Linked DNA regions of Homo sapiens: region 1 is linked to region 2. Evidence: promoter capture Hi-C in human tissues and cell types (Jung and others, 2019). All regions are on one chromosome and are shown on one strand. The core of a region is centred on a gene start or on the middle of the fragment in contact, and the rest is flanking DNA. Distances in the headings are between cores, read along the strand shown.

Evidence for each region. Contacts are between HindIII fragments. The study calls those that stand out against the background at their distance.
Region 1: a contact is called between a fragment that was not itself captured here and the fragment with the promoter of PEX26 in region 2, in 5 of the 25 tissues and cell types used here (lymphoblastoid cells, pancreas, small bowel and 2 more).

What each region holds. Positions count from the first base shown.
Region 1 is chr22:18,152,004-18,158,110 of GRCh38, forward strand. It overlaps USP18 (ubiquitin specific peptidase 18), which reads left to right. Exons shown (of 11, transcript NM_017414.4): 2 at 5,555-5,817. The coding sequence starts at 5,661. Among named protein-coding and RNA genes, the nearest start is that of USP18, 4.9 kb to the left of the region's middle. RefSeq lists enhancers at 587-836, 3,319-3,820. The HindIII fragment of the contact is 3,638 bases long and covers 1-3,078 here.
Region 2 is chr22:18,076,001-18,082,147 of GRCh38, forward strand. It overlaps PEX26 (peroxisomal biogenesis factor 26), which reads left to right and starts at 1,990. Exons shown (of 5, transcript NM_001127649.3): 1 at 1,990-2,606; 2 at 3,874-4,014. The coding sequence starts at 2,377. LOC105372853 (a long non-coding RNA gene) reads left to right here. Exons shown (of 6, transcript XR_001755424.2): 6 at 1,658-1,896. RefSeq lists enhancers at 1,664-1,723, 2,054-2,283, 2,764-2,813 and silencers at 2,354-2,403, 5,369-5,574. The HindIII fragment of the contact is 17,547 bases long and covers 1-6,147 here.

The sequences.
Region 1 (6,107 bases), core at 10-2,509, 75 kb after region 2:
AGATCCGGCCACTGCACTCCAGCCTGGGCGACAGAGGGAGACTCCGTCTCAAAAATAAAAATAAAAATAAAAAAAGAAAAAAGAAATGCAAAATAATGTGAACACGTCATCGAGACTGCGGTCTACAATTGTGGTTGCCATGATGGGGTGGGTCGGAAGACACCGAGGCTGCTTGAATCATGTTCCTGGCAGGTTAATTTTGTTCCTTTTAGGGCATCTAAATGTTGGAGTTGGCTTTCCTGGCAGAGAGTCCAGTTGTGAGTGGAGTATTGGGTGGAGGCCCCACCCTCCCCAGGTTTTCTGCAGCTTGTTCCTGGCTCTTCTGGGGCTTCTCTGAGGACCCCGATTGGTCCTGGGGCTTCTTTAGTGGTGGGCCTGGGCCAGTTCCTTCCGTTGCTCACCTCTCCCCGAAGCTTAAGGATAACATTTCGGGAAGATCATGAGAGAACGTGAACCAAAAAAAAAAAAAAAAATTCAGGTAGGGTGGGAGCTAAGTTAGTTTAGTATTTGGGATTTTTGTTTTGTTTTGTTTGAGACAGAGTCTCAAACAAAGACCCCGCGCCTGGCCTGGGGGTCTTTTTTTGAGTCAGCAGTTGAGTTTGAAAATCCCCTTCCTTGGAATCCGCCCAGGCTGTTTTCTCTGGTGGATGCTTATTGCCCCTGCTAACTTCAGCTGCGGTCTCTCTGCTCGCCTTGCCCTCCCCATCCTCCTTAGACCTTTTAAGCTTCACTTTCCTTTCCTTGCTGCCCCGCCTCCCTGTCTCCCCAGTGTGATCTACCCTGAAAGGCTGCTGTATTTTGTTTCCCTTTGGGACCGAGCCTGCTCAAATGATCTGCTCCATGAGGTTTTACTGCTATATCCTACTGAAGTATCTGGGAGGTCTTGGCGGAGAAGAGGACAACATCTTGGAAAATGCAGCCTGGAACCTCTCTGCTCTCTTTCATCAGCTTTCCCTCAATGATGAGCTCAAAATCCTCTTTCTTGCTGATGGAATTGTCTGCTGTCATCATTTCAGTTGAGTCCTCCTAGGCTGGGCCTTGTAAGAAGAACAACTGTTTATAACTATTGAAAGTCAATATTTACTAAGAAAAAGAGGTTGTTGTTATCTGAGCCATCCAACATGAATTTAAGAATATATTCCAGGCTGGGCGCGGTGGCTCATGCCTGTAATCCCAGCACTTTGGGAGGCCGAGATGGGTGGATCACCTGAGGTCAGGAGTTCAAGACCAGCCTGGCCAACATGGTGAAACCCCGTCTCTACTAAAAATACAAAAATTAGCCATGCGTGGTGGCACATGCCTGTAGTTCCAACTATTTGGGACACTAAGGCAGGGGAAGTGCTTGAACTCGGGAGGCAGAGGTTGCAGTGAGCTGAGATTGTACCACTGCACTCCAGCCTGGGTAAAAAGAGTGAAATTCCATCTCAAAAAAAAAAAAGGAGACAGGGTCTTGCCCTGTTGCCCAGGCTGGAGTGCCGTGGCACGATCATAACTCACTGTGGCCTCAAATTCCTGGGCTCAACTGATTCTCCTGCCTCAGTCTCCCAAGTAGCTGGGACCACAAGTACATGCCACCATGCTAGGCTAATTTTATTTTTATTTTTAGAAAATAAAATATTTTTTATTTTATTTAGGCAACATGCTATGTTGCCTAGACTGGTCTTGAACTCCTGGCTTCAAGCTATCCTCTTGCCTCAGCCAACCAAAGTGCTGGGATTGCAGGTGTGAACTGCCATGCCTGGCTTTCTATTCTCTATTTCTAGGAGATAAGCTTTTTGAGCTTTCACATATGAGTGTGAACATGTGGTATTTATCTTTCTGTGCCTAGGTTATTCCACTTAACGTAATGTACTCCAGGCTCATCCATGTTGATGGGAATTACAGGATTTCATTCTCTTGTAATGGCTGAATAACATCCCATTTTGTGTATATAGTCCACATGTTCTTTATCCATTCCTCTTTTGATAGACACTTAGGTTGATTCCGTATCTCGGGTATTATGAGCAGTGCTGCAGTAAACATGAGAGTGCAAATATCTCTTCAACATACTGATTCCCTTTCCTTTGGATATATATTCAGCAGTGGCATTACTAGATCATGTGGTATATCTATTTTTAGGTTTTTAAGGAATCTCCATACTGTTTTCCATAATGGCTCTACTAATTTACATTCCCACCAATGATTTGGTTGAGTTTATTCCTCACTCTGAGCAGCATGTTAGCTGGACTTAAACCCCGTCCAGCTTGTCTACATCTGGCCCATCACTTGCCAGTGGGAAAGGCACTTACTTCTTTGTATCTCAGTTTTCTCATCTGTCAAATGGAAATATAACAGTAATTAATTCACATGGCTGTGTAAGGATAAATAAGACAGTACATATAAAAGGCTTTCACCTTTTATAAGAAATAGTGCTTCGATGTTACCCATTATTATTATTTTATTTCATCTTATTTATTTATTTAGATACAAGGTCTCATTTGTTGCCCAGGCTGGAGTGTAGTGGCACAATCATAGTTCAGTGCAGCCTCAAACTCCTGGCCTCAAGTGATCCTCCTCCTTCACCCTTCTCAGTATTTGGGGCCACAGGCGTGCACCACTATGACCATCTAAATTTTTTTTTAGAGATGGGGTCTCAGTATGTTGCCCGGGCTAGTCTTGAACTCCTGGGCTCAAGTGATCCTCCCACCTCAGCCTCCCAAACTGCTGGGATTACAGGCCTGAGCCACCATGCCAGGCCTCATCTCTATATCTTTAGGGTTAGTCACTGGCACCTTAATTTGTTCATTTGGTGATGTCATGTTTCTCTGATTGACCTTGATCCTTATGGCTGTGTGTCAATGTCTGTGCATTGACATAGGTACCTAAGCCAGTCTTCATTGCCTGGCTTTGTTTGGGCTCGTCTTTCATCAGGAAACCCATAGGAGATTAGGGAGAGGCTGATTGGTCAGGACCCTAAGCCCATGACTGCTTCAGCTGTTGTAGTGCTGGGGGGTGCTCTAAGCCCAGCATCACTGTGGTTGGAATTCTTTGGCCACTGAGGCTGACACAGCCCTGGGTTATGCCTGAAGGCCATAGCTGCCGAGACTGGCACAGCACTGGGGCACGCCCAAGACCCACAGCTGTGATGGCGTGCTTGCTGCTGCTGAAGTTATTCAGGGCCCAGGGCCACTGTAGTTGTCAGGTAGTGATGTGGGCCAGATCGCCAGTCCCTGTTACTGGGGCTGTGGGTTCTCATCTGGCACTAGGGTGGGGTGAGATCTGCCTGTGGGTACTGGTCTAGTATCAGGGTGATGAGGCTCTGCCCAGTACTGGGTTTTACTGTAGTGAGCCTAGTCCTGGTGACAGGTGACAGCGTGCTGGCAGCCATCACAGCCCTCGCTCGCTCTCGGTGCCTCCTCGGCCTTGGCGCCCACTCTGGCCACGCTTGAGGAGCCCTTCAGCCCACCGCTGCACTGTGGGAGCCCCTTCCTGGGCTGGCCGAGGCTGGAGTGGGCTCCCTTAGCTTGCGGGGAGGTGTGGAGGGAGAGGCAGGGGCGGGAACTGGGGCTGCACGCGGTGCTTGTGGGCCAGCGCGAGTTCCGAGTGGGCGTGGGCTCGGCGGGCCCGCACTCGGAGCGGCCAGCCGGCCGGCCTGCAAGCCCCAGGCAGTAAGGGGCTTAGCACTTGGGCCAGCAGCTGCTGTGCTCGATTTCTCGCCGGGCCTTAGCTGCCTCCTGGCAGGGCAGGGCTCGGGACCTGTAGCCCGCCATGCCTGAGCCTCCCCACCCCGCAGCCATGGGCTCCTGTGCGGACCAAGCCTCCCCGACCAGCGCCGCTCCCGGCTCCACGCCGCCGAGTCCCACCGACCACCCAAGGGCTGAGGAGTGCGGGCGCACGGCGCGGGACTGGCAGGCAGCTCCACCTGCGGCCCAGGTGTGGGATCCACTGGGTGAAGCCAGCTGGGCTCCTGAGTCTGGTGGGGACTTGGAGAATCTTTATGTCTAGCTAAGGGATTGTAAATATACCAATCGGCACTCTGTATCTAGCTCAAGGTTTGTAAACACACCAATCAGCACCCTGTGTCTAGCTCAGGGTTTGTGAATGCACCAGTCGACCCTCTGAATCTAGCTACTCTGGTGGGGACTTGGAGAACCTTTGTGTCCACACTCTGTATCTAGCTAATCTAGTGGGGACGTGGAGACGTTTTGTGTCTAGCTCAGGGATTGTAAACACACCCATCAGCACCCTGTCAAAACGGACCAATCAGCTCTCTGTAAAACAGACCAATTGGCTGTCTATAAAATGGACCAATCAGCAGGATGTGGGTGGGGCCAGATAAGAGAATAAAAGCAGGCTGCCCGAGCCAGCAGTGGCAACCTGGTCAGGTTTCCTTCCATGCTGTGGAAGCTTTGTTGTTTCATTCTTTGCAGTAAGTCTTGCTACTGCTCACTCTTTGGGTCCACACTGCCTTTATGAACTGTAACACTCACCGCGAAGGTCTGTAGCTTCACTCCTGAAGCCAGCAAGACCACAAACCAACCAGGAGGGACTAACAACTCCAGACGCGCTGCCTTAAGAGCTGTAACACTCACCGTGAAGGTCCGCAGCTTCGCTCCTGAAGCCAGCGACACCACGAACCCACCGGGAGGAACGGACATCTCCAGATGCGCCGTATTAGGAGCTGTAACACTCACCGCGAAGGTCTGCAGCTTCACTCCTGAGCTAGCGAGACCACAAACCCACCAGAAGGAAGAAACTCCGAACACATCCGAACATCAGAAGGAATAAACTGCGGACATGCCCCCTTTAAGAACTGTAACACTCACTGCGAGGGTCCACGGCTTCATTCTTGAAGTCAGTGAGACCAAGCACCCACCAATTCCGGACACACTGGGTTCCAAGGCGAAGTACTCCACTTACCTCTTCTTCCCCCAAGCAAACAGTGTCTCTCTTCACACAGCTGTGCTGGGTTGGGGGAGGGTACACGGGTACCCCTATGGCCACTGAGGCTGAGACAATATTGAGTCACACCCCCAGAATTCATGCCATGAGACCAGCCCAGCACCAGGATGTGCCTAAGGCCGACAGGTAGCTACAGCCTGCCTGCAGCTAAGGTTTATCTGACTGCTGCAGCTGGCCGGCAGTGTTGCGGGCCAGAACACGAGGCTGTTCTGCCAGGGCCGCAGGTCCCCTTGGGTGTTGGGCGGGTTGAGAGGCTTCCCCTGTATGCCAGCCTGGCATCAGGGGCTGAGAGTTCTTGCTTAGTGCTGGCTTTTTACTGAAGTGGGCCTGGTCCTGGGTTGTAAAGCAAAGTCCTATGCGCGCTTCCCTGTCCTTTCCCAAGAGGGCGCTCCCGGTTAGGATTTGGCAGTCGGCTCTGAGGATGAATGGAAACGCCTGGGACCCAGGTTAGGGGATGTGTAGCCTAGCTGTCATTTCCAGCCTAGAGCTCTATGAGTCAGTCTCCCCAAACATTTATCTCCCTCTAAGACCTGCTCTTTGGCATCAGAACGGATTACATGAATACACATTCCTCCTTCTCTAATTCTTGCCTACCCGCATTGTATTTTCACAGAGATTCCATCGTGCCTGGCTCACATAAGCGCTTCCTGGAAGTGAAGTCGTGCTGTCCTGAACGCGGGCCAGGCAGCTGCGGCCTGGGGGTTTTGGAGTGATCACGAATGAGCAAGGCGTTTGGGCTCCTGAGGCAAATCTGTCAGTCCATCCTGGCTGAGTCCTCGCAGTCCCCGGCAGATCTTGAAGAAAAGAAGGAAGAAGACAGCAACATGAAGAGAGAGCAGCCCAGAGAGCGTCCCAGGGCCTGGGACTACCCTCATGGTCATTAGACCCCTCCCGTTTTCCTCTTCTTGACTGCATGTAAATGTTCGGCTCACCCCCTCCGCTCTGAAGCCGCAGAGCTTTGTATTCGACGGCTCATGCTTTCCTGTGCCTGAGTTTCTGCATCTTTTAGATGGGGATACAGCCTGGGCCATAGTGAAACCCTATCTGTAAAAAACAAAAACAAGGTCGGGCGCGGTGGCTCATGCCTGTAATCCCAGCAGTTTGGGAGGCCGTGGCAAGTGGATCATGAGGTCGGGAGTTTAAGACCAGCCTGGCCAAAATGGTGA
Region 2 (6,147 bases), core at 740-3,239:
TTGTGGGCATAATAGTGCTAAACAGTGGTTACATACGGACTGATATGAAGCCCGGGAATAGTTGAAAATTGGGTGAATCAGAAATGGAATACAATCATATTTTTATATGGTTTCTAGCTCTCCTCTCTCCTGCCTTAAATATCTTGACCTCATTCTGGCTGTCTCACTACTAAATAGGCAAATTTACTTTTAGCAAGGCTGCTTCTGTTAAGACTGTGCCTCCATCTCCTGGACAAATTTGGAATAGCAAGAAATTTGTTAGGAAAGGGACTTTTCCAGGCAGCAGCCGCTTAGAGCTGGCCGCTTCTGAGCATGTTCGTCTTCCCAGGCCTGGCTCACATTTTCAGTGCTTAATGCGCATGGCGCTTTATGCGCAATATTACTTAATTCTTCCCTCAGCCATTGGGAGCTAAGGACAAACTGTTATCCCAATTTTACAGGTGAGGAAATCAGAGCTTATTTAAATAAATTGCCGAGGTCACACAACTAGTAAGCGACAAAATCTCAGTCAAACCGAGGCTCTTTTGGTTCAAAGATGTGTATTGAGCTCTACTCTGCTCTGCAGGGACAGAACTAAGTATGTTTGCTATTCAGGGGATACACAGTCATTCCATGAGCAAGTTACACAATGTAAAATAAGGACATTGTGAAAAACAAAACCATACCGTACATAATGCACTTTATAGTAAAGTACTGGGAACAGAGTATTTGGTAAATTGTAACTATAATAATAATTTTAAACAGATCCACAAATCACACTTATTATTATATTCTGTTTCACCCGGGCTTTGCCAAGCTTCCCACATTTGTACTAGATCCTCTTGGCTTTAGTTTCTCCCCAGTTCTCTACCCTTTGAATTCACTCCAAAGCTTCCCTAGAATCTTTGCTCTCCTAGAAATTAGATTAAACAGGCACCTGCTCACATCATACATCCCCTGCCCTTGTCACCAGACATGCACACATCCATCTTCTGGGATTTCCGTTCTCTTGCAGAAAAGTCTGCATGGGAAGCTGAGGCAGAACCAAGTCCACCAGACTCCGAGGAAAGAGAAGTCTGGACCCTGTAACCAGATAAAAGTGAAACCAGGACTTCATTTATTCCACAAATACTTTTTGACTACCTATAGATGACAGGCACTGTTCAAGGCATTGAGGTTCCCACAGTGAACAAAAGAGACAAAAACGTCTGCCTTTGTGAGTTTATATCATAGTGGAAGGAAATAGACAATAAAAATAAGTAAAATATAGACATTGGTATGTAGATGGTGATAAATGATAAGGAGAAATATAAAGACAGATCGGAAGTGACAACAGTGGGGAAGTGGAATTGGTATCTGCATTTAACGTTGTTTTTTAACAGCAAATTCAGGATGGGGCAGAGAGCAGTGAGAAAAATGAGGCCCTTATGCTCAGCGCCCCCAACCCCGCCTCGGTGGGGTCACTATTCATTTTGGAACATTGCCCTTGGGACCAACATATTCTCAGTGGTCCTTGTGAAGGTTTCCACCCTAAGTCCCTCATCCTCACCAGGCAATATTCATTACCCTACAGCAAACTCCGGAGGCAACGCGGAGAAAGTGTGAATCAATTCAAGACTAAGGTTGCCAAAATGTTTGATCAGCTCTGCGTCAGCCTTGACATTACATTACATTACAGATCCCCTGATCGCCACCGTCGCAGAAGCTCTGAATTAAAAGCGTGCATGTAGCTGCACATCCATTGCTGGCACTTCTTCCGTTAGCCTCCGCTGGAACTGGTTAGTGAGGACCCCTCCATTTCACAAGACAGCTTCGGTTTTGCTTCGTTTTGACTTCCGCACCCCGAAGCTGTAGCACCAGTTTGTTTTCTCACGGCACAGGGGCGGCTTCCGGGGCGCGGCGTGCTGGGGGTTGTAGTCCGCGCTCTGCCTCCTACTTCCATTACAGAAGGCGATGGGCCGAGAGCTGAGGAACTACAACTCCTAGAGTACTCCGCGCCGCCGGGACGCCGCGCGGCTGCGGGGCTGGGCGAGCGCAAAGATGTCCGCGCCCGCTGCCGGGAGGCGAGGTGAGTCTTTGATCGTAACCAGGAGCCCGGAGCTGAGGCAGTTCCTGCACGTGTCGCGGGGCCGGAGAAGCTAGGGCCAGGTATTCCAGGGATGCAAGAATCCTGCAAATCTGACGTGTAAACTGCTTCCCCAGCCTCCAGGCGAGCCCAGCTTTTGCCTCAGATAGGCCCCTTCCTTTTCCTTCTCGGGGAATCGACCTCGGGAAGGGGTGTGGGCAAAGAGATGAGGACTCTCCCTCTTCGCCCAGGCCAACTCGGGATATCCCGGAGCCTCTGGGGAGGCGGTCACTCCGACGTCTGAGGACCTGGGCCTTGGACCCGGACTCGTTATGAAGAGCGATTCTTCGACCTCTGCAGCCCCCCTCAGGGGGCTCGGGGGACCCCTGCGCAGCAGCGAGCCGGTGCGCGCGGTCCCGGCCCGGGCGCCGGCCGTGGACCTTCTGGAGGAGGCGGCCGACCTCCTGGTGGTGCACCTGGACTTCCGGGCGGCGCTGGAGACCTGCGAGCGGGCCTGGCAGAGTCTGGCCAACCACGCCGTGGCAGAGGAACCCGCGGGCACGTACGTGCTGGGCTCGGAAATGAACCGATTTCCGGGCGCTCTTGTGGTGGGGCTCAAGGTCTCAGGAGTTCTGTCCTTCCCAGATTGCCCACAAGGAGCTTTACACCTCGCTTTCATCAGTGGTTTGTCTCCGAGAGGGTGGTCGCTCATCGTGTGCCCATTCTACAGAGAAGGGAAGTCGTGTAACAAAAACTTAGTGGGGATCCCACAGCCAATTATTTGCTCCTTGTTCCAAGGTACAATGACATGATGGGAAGGCTGAATGTGTATTAAGTGCTAAGTTCTGTCAGTAAGCAGGTGGTAAAAGTCCTCTCCCAGGTACCTCCGCCCTCCCCGCCCCGCCCAAGGTTGTTTATTCCTGACCTTGGCTGATGATGGGGAATGGGGGTCATGGCAGGAGCAGCGTTCTGGTCCAATTAGAGGACTGGATTAAAGAATTAATTCAGGGCCGGGAGCTGGGGCTTACGCCTGTAATCCCAGCACTTTGGGAGGCCGAGGCAGGAGGATTGCTTGAGCCCAGGAGTTCGAGACCAGCCTGGGTAACATAATGAGCCCTCTTCTCTACCAAAAAGAAGAAAAAGAAAAGAATCCGGAGAAAAAAACCTTGGGCTTGCATTGCTCTTTCTAATGCCACCAGCCTCGTCTGGCAGGTGAGGGAGTCATTTCTTTGCATTGTAAACTTGGGTTAGGCCACGCTAGGGAGGTGGTAGGTAGAATAGCTAAAGTTGACCACAAAGAAGGATGATCTGGAGAGCCCTGGCTGTGTTTTAGGGGACTGGGTGGGAGCTCATTTCAGTGAATGCAGAAGGCTTTGCTTCTGGGTGTCTGGAGGAACCTTACTAGGTGGTGCCTTTTAGCCAGCTATGGAGTCTATACCTCCACTCAGCCAGAAACCTTGCTCCAAGCCCATTTGTTCACAGAGCAAACTCTTAGTTCCAGCTCTCTTTTCAGCCACACACCGGTGCTGTGTGTTATTTCCCCCTCAGGATTACCCTTCCTCTTCATTTAAATCTGATTTCACCTGGATACAAAGATGAACGTTGAGCAACAGCTGACTTGCCTCTTGAAAGAGGGTTACAGGAACTTTTAGTTCCTGGGGGAAAGGGCAGCCCATGAGACCAATTGTGAAGCCCATCTAAATACTAACAGGGATGAGAGAGATGATGGCTGCTGAGTTGGGAGCTGGAGAGGAACAGTCCCAAGGTGGAGGTGGGAATGGAAATGGAGGGGAACCACTTCTAACTGAAATTGGTTTTTCTGCTGACAGCTCATTGGAGGTGAAGTGCTCCCTGTGTGTTGTGGGGATCCAGGCCCTGGCAGAAATGGATCGGTGGCAAGAAGTCCTCTCCTGGGTCCTTCAGTATTACCAGGTCCCTGAAAAGCTACCCCCCAAAGTCCTGGAGCTGTGGTAAGTCTTCTTTGCTGACTCATCAGATCGGTTCAGAAACGAGAGGATTTTCATCTCCTCTCCTAAATACCTACTCTTTTCCCCTTCCCTACTATTGCCCTCCAGATCGGATTCTTTCCCTTCACTTTTTTTTCCCCAGACTTCCATACATAGCAATAAAGAATAAGGGGGAGGAATTTAGGAGTAGAATAGATATAAAGAAGGGAGGAAACAGGGAATAGGAGCGACGTGGGATGACAGAGTGGACAGAGCTGAAAGAGCAGCTTGCTACGTCCTAGGAATTCCTAATTCTTAAAAAAAAATTTTGTTTTGTTTTGTTTTGTTTTGTTTTTTGAGACGGAGTCTCGCCCTGTCGCCCAGGTTGGAGTGCAGTGGCACAGTCTCTGCTCACTGCAAGCTCCACCTCCCGGGTTCACACCATTCTCCTGCCTCAGCCTCCCGAGTAGCTGGGACTACAGGCGCCTGCCACCACGCCCGGCTAATTTTTTTGTGTTTTAAGTAGAGACAGGGTTTTACCGTGTTAGCCAGGATGGTCTCAATCTCCTGACCTCGTGATCCACCTGCCTCGGCATCCCAAAGTGCTGGGATTACAGATGTGAGCCATCGCCCCTGGCCAAAAAATAACAAAGTTTTTAAAATTGACACTTGTACATATTTATGGGGTAAATTAGACATTTCAATATATGCTGTGTATATGTTGTATAATGATCAAATCAGGGTAGTTAGCATATCCATCACCTCATGCATTTATCATTTGTTTGTGACAGGAACATTCAAAAGCCTCTCTTCCGGCTATTTTATATATACAATACCTTACTGTTAACCATAACCACCCTACCGTGCAATAGAACACCACAACTTATTCCTCCTATCCCACCGTAACTTTGTACCCATTGACGAACCTCTTCCCGTCTTCCTTTTCTTCCTTCCTTTCCCAGTCTCTGGTAACCACCGTTCTACCGTCTGCTTCTATGATATCAACTTTTTTTTTTTTTTAAAGATTCACATGAGTGAAATCATGTAGTATTTATCTTTCTGTGCCTGGCTTATTTCACTTAACATGATGTCCCCCAGGTCCACCTGTGTTGTCATGAATGACAAGATTTCATTCTTTTTTATGGCTATATAGTATTCCATTATATATATATATATATATATATATGCGTGTGTGTATATATATACACATATATAAACACATATATACACATAATATACATATATGTACACATATACACACACACACACACACACACACACACACACACATTATCCATTCATCTGTTGTTGGACACTTAGGTTGATTCCATATCTTGGCTGTTGTGAATAGTGCTGCATTAAACAGGGGAGATAATGGATTGCTAGATCATGTGGTAGTTCTATTTTTATTTTTTTCACCTGGCCATTCTTAAGTTTATTTTGATGACACCCGGTGACAGTTCCCTGTACCTAGAAGAAGGTGTTGGGACTCTTGATGTTGGAGTGTGGCTTGTGCTGAAGACACAGGACCTGGTAGGGCAGCAGGAACTTGATCTTGGAATTGTGGAACTGCTTGACTGTCGGCCGGTGGCAGTACCAGAAGCGGGACTTGGCACAACTTGCTTAGGTGCAGAGATTTGCTGGCAGTAGAGGGGCAGCATGTGGCATTTGGGGGTGGGCAGGCAGCAAATACTCTCTCAGTGTGCCCCAGGCCTTCATGGCATTCTCTCAGCACTTGCCACCACTTACAAAAAGGAAGTGCCGTCTTTCCTATTTTGAATTTTTTAAAGGAACCTGCATTCTGTTTTCCATAATGGCTGTACTAATTTACAGTCCCACCAACAGTGTGTAAGTGCTGCCTTTCTCCACATCCTCACCCGCACCAACACTCGTTTTCTTTTGTCTTTTTGATAAGAGCTGTTCTAACTGGAGCGAGGTAGTGTCTCATTGTGGTTTTGATTGGCATTTCCCTGATGATTAGTAGTGTTGAGCATTTTTTCATATACCTGTTGGCCATGGTACGTCGTCTTCTGAGAAATGTCTGTTGAGGTCTTTTTCCCTTTTGAATCAGGTTTTTTTTTTTTTTTTCTGCTGTTAAGTTCCTGATATATTCTGGATATTAACGCTTTGTCAGATGGATAGTTTGCAAATATTTTC